Regions from separate parts of the Homo sapiens genome. Here region 1 is linked to region 2. Evidence: promoter capture Hi-C in human tissues and cell types (Jung and others, 2019). All regions are on one chromosome and are shown on one strand. Each heading gives the region's core, a stretch centred on a gene start or on the middle of the fragment in contact. The rest is flanking DNA. Distances are from core to core; before and after follow the strand shown.

Evidence for each region. The method cuts DNA at HindIII sites, captures the fragments that hold promoters and counts their contacts. A contact is called where the count stands out against the background at its distance.
Region 1: a contact is called between a fragment that was not itself captured here and the fragment with the promoter of MAP2K2 in region 2, in 1 of the 25 tissues and cell types used here (dorsolateral prefrontal cortex).

Annotation. Positions count from the first base shown.
Region 1 is chr19:3,794,474-3,798,508 of GRCh38, reverse strand. It overlaps a transcript of MATK not described here. Among named protein-coding and RNA genes, the nearest start is that of MATK, 10 kb to the right of the region's middle. The HindIII fragment of the contact is 4,542 bases long and covers 380-4,035 here.
Region 2 is chr19:4,122,733-4,126,770 of GRCh38, reverse strand. MAP2K2 (mitogen-activated protein kinase kinase 2) reads left to right here and starts at 2,649. Exons shown (of 11, transcript NM_030662.4): 1 at 2,649-2,987. The coding sequence starts at 2,896. RefSeq lists silencers at 2,497-2,616, 2,807-3,056. The HindIII fragment of the contact is 9,633 bases long and covers 30-4,038 here.

The DNA.
Region 1 (4,035 bases), core at 1,401-3,900, 330 kb after region 2:
AATCCAGGCCATTAAAGTCACAACCCCAGATGTCTAACCTCTTGTGGCTTCTAGAACGCTGGATGCCAGGCTATGAGAAAAGCCTTCCAGATGCTGCCAATGTTTCGGGATTCCTGCCCAGTGACCCCCACCCCCACCCGCCAACCACCCCACAGTGAGGCCGCCCTGTGGTGAGGAGGCTTCCGTCAGCTCTGTAGCACTCCATCATAATTGTTAGTCAACAGAGAGACCAAAACCCACAAAGAGAAAAGAAAAGTAACCTGAAGGAGAGACAAAGAGGGCAGAAGAAAACAGTTCTAGAAAAATCCTTATGTTCCTGATTCAAACACAGAACAGAAAAAAACAAAACCTGTATGCATCTTATCCTCGGAGAGCTCATAGAGGATATAACAGCCAGGAAACAAGTATAAGTTTGCCTTTATTTATTTACTTATTTATTTATTATTTATTTTTATTTTTTATTTTTTGAGATGGAGTCTCCCTCTGTCACCCAGGCTGGAGTACAGTGATGTGTTCTTGGCTCACTGCAAACTTCACCTCCCAGGTTCAAGCGATTCTCCTCCTTTAGCCTCCCAAGTAGCTGGGATTATAGGCATGAGCCACCATGCCCGGCTAATTTTTGTATATTTAGTAGAGATGGGGTTTCACCATGTTGGCCAGCCTGGTCTCGAACTCCTGACCTCTGGTGACCCATCAGCCTCAGACTCCTAAAGTGCTGGGATTACAGGTGTGAGCCACTGCACTGGGCCAAGAAATTCTTTTATTTATTTACATATTATTTGGAGATTGGGGTCTCACTATGTTGCCCAGGCTGGTCTCAAACTCCTGAGCTCCGTGAGCCACCACACACAGCCAAGTTTGTCCTTTAAAGAGGAACGGTAAAAGAACCAGAAAGAGCTCTTGGAAATTAAAACTCTGACAGTCACTGGGTGTGGTGGTGCATGCCTGTAATCCCAACACTCCAGGAGGCTGAGGCAGGCAGATTGTTTGAGCTCAGGAGTTTGAAACCAGCCTGGGAAACATAGTGAGACTAAAAATCAAAAAAATTAGCCAGCATGGTGGCAGGCACCTGTAGTCCCAGCTACTTGGGAGGCTGAGGCAGGAGGATCACTTGAGCCCAGGAGGTCGAGGCTGCAGTGGGCTGTGATTGCACCACTGCACTCCAGCCTGAGCAACAGAGTGAGACCCTGTCTCAAAAAAAAAAAAAAATTAATAGTCAAAATTAAAATGTCAATAGAAGGGTTGGAAGAAAAAGTAGAAAGTGGGGGGGTGGGGGGGAAGGTAGGCAAGAAAATGAAAACATCAATCCAAGAAGTCCACCCTATGACAATAACGTGTTCCACAAACACGCCAGAGAAACCAAAGTGGAAGAAATCACCAATGATATCATTCAAGAAAGTTTGCCAGGAAGAGAACACAGGAAAGAGCCCACCAAGTACTCAGCACAATGGTTGAAAACAGACCCACACCAAACCCACCACTGTGAAAGTGCAGGATGTAGGGAACAAGAAGATTCTACAAGCTTCCAGAAAGAGAGAGAGAGAGACAGAAATTAACCATGGGACAGGCAAAGTATGAGGAAACAGGACAACTTCTGATCATTCAGCTGCCCAAGACTAGAAGCTGGAAAACATTGGGCAAAAGAAAAGTATCCACCTACAATACTGTCAGCCAAACCTCTAATTACCCAGGAGAGTAGGAGGAAAACACTTTCTCTGGAAACCCTAGGGGGAGCACATTCCTAAAACAAGGGACCAAACCAAGAAACAGGGAGACCCACACCCAAGAAACAGGAGCTATATCTAAGAATCCCCTTGTGCCGAAGAAGAGAGGGGCCAGGATCACAGCTGGGCAGTAGGAGAAAGTCCTGAGTGGAGATGTCAGTTCTGGTGGAGAGGCTGGGGGAAAGAGTCACAGACACATAAAACCAAGGCGATGACTAACTCCAGGGAAATAAAAAAGCAGGTCCCAGAAAATAATGTTCTTAGTATACATTGCTCCACTGTCAATAATATTTATATTAATATATATACTATAAGCACTGAATTTTCATTTAAGCAAAAATTGTGATTTAACTGTTGGGGGAGCAGAATGCCTAAGAGAGCTAAATCTTGACCTTCTGGAATAGGAAGTCAATGGACAACATCCAACTGATAAATCAAGGGATGTGTAAAACACATTACTTGGAACTATGGAGGTAAATACCTGAAAACAGCAACAGCAACCCCTGAGGAGTGGGACATTATATTGCTTTGTCTTCAGCACACAGTAAAACACCCTATAAATATCAGCTGCTATTCATACCAACAAGAATATACTTACCCTTGAGAGGCTCATTGCTGAGTTGAGGAGCTTTATTTATATATTTTGAGTTTTATTTTTTTAAACACTTCTTGAGAGCTTATTACATGCCATGAGTATCAGCACATTTAATTTAACAGATTGAAAAATACAGCTGGTGGCTCACACGTGTAATCCCAGCACTTTGGGAGGCCGAGGCAAGCAGATCACTTGAGGTCAGGAGTTCGAGACCAGCCTGGCCAACATGGTGAAACCTCATCTCTACTAAAAATACAAAAATTAGCCAGGCGTGATGGCGCGTGCCTGTAATCCTAGCTATTCAAGAGGCTGAGGCAGGAGAATAGCTTGAACCTGGGAGGCGGAGGATGCAGTGAGCCAAGATCACGCCTCTGCACTCCAGCCTGGACGAAACAGTGAGATTCCATCTCAAAAAAAAAAAAAAAAAAAAAAAAAAAAGCACCTACTTATGAGAAAATAAAGACTGTGAGAAGGCAGCGGAGAGCAAACTACAGTCTGAGGGCCAAGTCCAACCTGCCATCTGTATCCGCACAACTCCTCCAGCTAAAATCGTTTTTTTACATTTGTAAATAGTTGGAGGAAAATGGAATCAATATTATATGACATATGAAAAGTCATATGAGGCCGGGCATGGTGGCTCATATCTGTAATCCCAGCACTTTGGGAGGCCAAAGTGGGCAGATCATCTAAGGTCAGGAGTTCAAGACCAGCCTGGCCAACATGAAACCCATCTCTACTAAAATACAAAAATTAGCCGGGTGTGGTGGCACATGCCTGTAATCCCAGCTACTTGGGAGGTTGAGACATGAGAATTGCTTGAACCCAGGAGGCAGAAGTTGCAGTGAGCCGAGATCACGTTAATGCATTCCAGCCTGGGTAACAGAGTGAGACTCTGTCTCAAAAAAAAAAAAAAGGCCAGGCTTGGTGGCTCACGCCCATAATCCTAGCACTTTGGGAGGCCGAGGTGGGCGGATCACGAGGTCAGGAGATCGAGACCATCCTGGCTAACACGATGAAATCCCTTCTCTACTAAAAATGCAAAAAATTAGGCGGGTGTGGTGGCGGGCGCCTGTAGTCCCAGCTACATGGGAGACTGAGGCAGGACAATGGTGTGAACCTGGGAGGTGGAGCGTGCAGTGAGCCAAGATCACGCCACTGCACTCCAGCCTGGGCAACAGAGCGAGACTCCAGCTCAAAAAAAAAAAAAAAAAAAAGCAAAAGAAAAGAAAAGTAATATGAAAGTCAAATGTCCATGTCCATAAATAAAGTTTTATTGGAATGCAGCCACGGTCTTTGGCTTCTGTGTTATCTATGGTGTCCCTGAAATGGCAGAGCTGAGTAGTTGGGACAGAGACCAGCATGCCCTTTAGAGAGACAGTTTGCTGGGCCCTGAGTTAGAGCATGAGGTCATGAGAGGATGAAGAGGGATCCTGGAGGAGAGACTTAGGGGCTGCTCTTGAGTAGACATGACTGGTTTATTCCGGAATAATGTGTATCTCCTGTTCTCCTTACTTGATCTTTTCTTTTCTTTTTTTGAGACAGGGTCTTGCTCTGTTGCCCAGGCTGGAGTGCAGTAGCATAATCATAGCTGACTGCAGCCTCAACCTCCTGGGCTCAAGTGATCCTCCTGCCTCAGCTTCCTGAGTGGCTGGGACTACAGGCATACACCACCACACCCAGCTAGTTTATTTTATTTTTTGTAGAGACAGGGTCTCA
Region 2 (4,038 bases), core at 1,400-3,899:
CGAGATGGAGTCTCGGTCGGTCGCCCAGGCTGGAGTGCAATGGCGTGATCTCGGCTCACTGCAACCTCCACCTCCCGGGTTTAAGCGATTCTCCTGCCTCAGCCTCCCGAGTAGCTGGGACTACAGGCACGCATCACCACACCCAGTTAATTTTTGTATTTTTAGTAGAGACGGGGTTTCACCATGTTGGCCAGGATAGTCTCAATCTCTTGACCTCATGATCCACCTGCCTTGGCTTCCCAAAGTGCTGGGATTACAGGCGTGAGCCACCGCGCCCGGCCAGTTGGTTGGTTTTGTTTTTTGAGCGTGAGTCTGGCTCTGTCGCCCAGGCTGGAATGCGATGGCACAATCTCGGCTCACTGCAACCTCCGCCTCCGGGGTTCAGTTATCCCACCTCAGCCTCCCTAGTAGCTGGAATTACAGCCACCCGCCACCACACCTGTGTAATTTTTGTATTTTTAGTAGAGACGAGGTTTCACCATGTTGGCCAGGTTGGTCTCGAACTCCTGACCTCAAGTGATCAGCCCACCTCAGCTTCCCAGGGTCCTGGGATTACAGGTGTGAGCCACGGCACCTGGCAAAAAATTAAATTTTTTTTTGTTCTGTTTTATTGGAGACGGAGTCTTACTTTGTCGCCCAGGCTGGAGGGCAGTGGTGCAATCTTGGCTCACTGCAACGTCTGCCCCCCGGGTTCAAGCGATTCTCCTGCCTCAGCCGCCTGAGTAGCTGAGACTATAGGCACACACCGCCAGGCCTGGCTAATTTTTGTATTTTATTTATTTATTTGTTTGTTTGTTTGTTTGTTTGATTTTTTTGAGACGAAGTCTCGCTCTTGTCTCCCAAGCTGGAGTGCAATGGCGTGATCTTGGCTCACTGCAACCTCTGCCTCCCGGGTTCAAGCAATTCTTCTGCCTCAACCTCGCGAGTAGCTGGGATTACAGGCACGCGCCACCATGCCCGGCTAATTTTTGTATTTTTTTGTTTTAGTAGAGACGGGGTTTCACCATGTTGGCCAGACTCGTCTTCAACTCCTGACCTCAGGTGATCCACCCGCCTCGACCTCCCAAAGTGCTGGGATTACAGGCGTGAGCCACCGCGCCCAGCCTATGACCTTTCTTATAAAGTGGTACGGCTATTGTATTAAATAGTAAGGTGGTGCTTCAAAAAGTTCAACATAGAATTACCATATAATCCAGTAATTCCTCTTCAGAACATATACCCAAAAGAACTCAAGGCAAGGACTCAAACAGATATTTGTACATCTGTGTTCATAGCGGCACGATTCACCGAAGTGTCTAGTGGCAGATAAATGGATAAGCAAAATATAGTCCATGCACACAATAGAATATTATTCAGCCTTAAAAAGGAGGAAAATCCTGACTGGGTGCGGTGGCTCACGCCTGTAATCCCAGCACTTTGGGAGATCGAGGCGGGTGGATCACGAGGTCAGGAGATGGAGACCATCCTGGCTAACACGGTGAAACCCCGTCTCTACTAAAAATACAAAAAAATTAGCCGGGCATGGTGGTGGGCACCTGTAGTCCCAGCTACTCGGGAGGCTGAGGCAGGAGAATGGCGTGAACCCGGGAGGCAGAGTTTGCAGTGGGCCGAGATCGCACCACTGCACTCCAGCCTGGGTGACAGAGCGAGACTCCGTCTCAAAAAAAAAAAAAGGGAAATTTTTCTTTTTTTTTTTTTTTCTGCTCTTTTTTGGAGCAGGGCTACCCGATTGGAAGTATGCCCGGAGTAGTCAAGTGGGTAAATTCTAACACAGGTTACAACGTGGATCTAACACAGCTACAACAGGCACCTTGAGGACGTGGCCCTCAGTGAAATATGCCAGCCACAAAGGGACAAAACCTGTGTGATCCTACTCATATGAAGTCCCTAGAATCATCAGATTCACAGGAAGTACGACGTTGGGTTCCAGGGGCTGGGGAGGGGGATAGGGAGTGAGGTTTCATAGGGGACAGTGTTTCAGTTTCGGAAGATGAGAAAATTCTGGAGATGGTGGTGGTGGTGGTTGCTTAATGCCGCTGAGCTGTGCATTTAGAAATGGTTAAAATGACAAGTTTTATGTTATGTGTATTTTATAATAAAAATGTTTCAACATGCGCATAGTAATATATGCAATTTTATTTGTCAATTAAAATAAATTTTAAAAATGTTTTAGAGTGGCCTTGTTCTGATGAAGGAGGGGGAGTAACTGACACTCTAAGGCGGTGGGGGCTAGGGGCGTGTGTCCACGCTTGCCAAAAAGATTAAATGGACTCTGGGTGGGTCTCGTCCACTGTTCTGGGGTCTTACGGGTTCTCTCAGCCCCAGCCTGGGGCACCACAGGCTCTCAGGAGTCTGGCTACCCTGCCCACCTGTGCACGACCATCACCCCAGCCTTCATCCCTCCGTCTCCTCCCCTGCTCCCGCGCCTCATGCCCCAAGCGCTTGGGCACACGCGCCGTGGTAAGGCAAGCGAGGGCGCCCGGTCCCGGCACCGCCTCGCGTCGGTCTCCGCCCCTTTCCCCTCCGAAAGGCGGCCTTGTGCTGCTGCGCAGGCGCGGCGGCTGGGGGTGGGGTCCATCGCGGCTCCCGATCCCGTTATCGCGAGAAGCCGGTCCGCGATCTTGTGGCCGCCCCTCCCCTCCCCCTGCCTCTCGGACTCGGGCTGCGGCGTCAGCCTTCTTCGGGCCTCGGCAGCGGTAGCGGCTCGCTCGCCTCAGCCCCAGCGCCCCTCGGCTACCCTCGGCCCAGGCCCGCAGCGCCGCCCGCCCTCGGCCGCCCCGACGCCGGCCTGGGCCGCGGCCGCAGCCCCGGGCTCGCGTAGGCGCCGACCGCTCCCGGCCCGCCCCCTATGGGCCCCGGCTAGAGGCGCCGCCGCCGCCGGCCCGCGGAGCCCCGATGCTGGCCCGGAGGAAGCCGGTGCTGCCGGCGCTCACCATCAACCCTACCATCGCCGAGGGCCCATCCCCTACCAGCGAGGGCGCCTCCGAGTGAGTGGGCAGGGGTCAGCCGGAGGCTTGGGGTGCACGGGGCAGGGAGCCCTCGGGGAAGGACGGGGCGAGGGGACGGGGGTTCGCGAGGAGTGCACGAGGCAGGGGGGTCACGGGGGAGGACGGGGTGAGTGGTGCACGGGGCAGGGGGTTCTCGAGGGGAGGACAGGGCAGGGGACCCTCGGGGGAGGACGGGGCAGGGGGCCCTCGGGGGAGGACGGGGCAGGGGGCCCTCGGAGGACGGGGCGAAGGGTGCACGGGGCAGGGGGGTCTTTGAGCAGTGAGATTGGGCGAGGGGAGGTCCTTGTGGTGGAAAAGATGGGGTGTGGGGTTCCTGAAGAGTGGAATTGGGATAACGGGAGTCTCTGAGTAGTGAAGTTGGGGTGAAGGATGTCTCTAAGAGGAGAGGATGGGGACAGGGGTCCCTGAGCAGCGAGGTTGAGTGAGGGGAGGTCCCTGCAGTGCAGAAGATGGGGTGTGGGGCTTCTGAAAAGTGAAGCTGGGGTGAGGGGAGTCCCTCAGTAGGAAAATCGGAATGAGGGGTGTCCCCAAGGAGAGAACAGGATGAGGCTCCCCAAGCAGTGAGATCGGGGTGAGGGGTATCTCTAAGAGGAGAGAACACAGTGTGGGGTCCTTGAGTAGTGAAATGAGGGTGAAGAGTTCCTAAGAGGAAAGGACGGAGTAAAGGTTGCCGTAGTCATGAGATGAGGGTGAGGGGAGACCCTGAGTAGGGAAATCGGGGTGCAGGGCATTCCTGAGAGGAGAGGATGGGGTGTGGGGAGGTCAGGCAGCCCCTGAGGAGGAAATCTGGGCAAGGGGGCTCCAGAGGGGAGAGGATGGGGTGAGGGGTCCCTGAGTAATGAGACTGAGATGGGGTAGGGTCCCTGGTAGGAAAAGACGGGGTAAGGGTCCCTCAATAATGAGATAGGGCCAAGGGAGGTCCCTGTGGGAAAAGACAGGGCATGGAGTCACTGAGTAGCAGAATGGTGGTAGGTCTCTGAGTAGTGAAATGGGGTGAACGGTCCCTGAATAGTGAAATCGGGGAGATGGT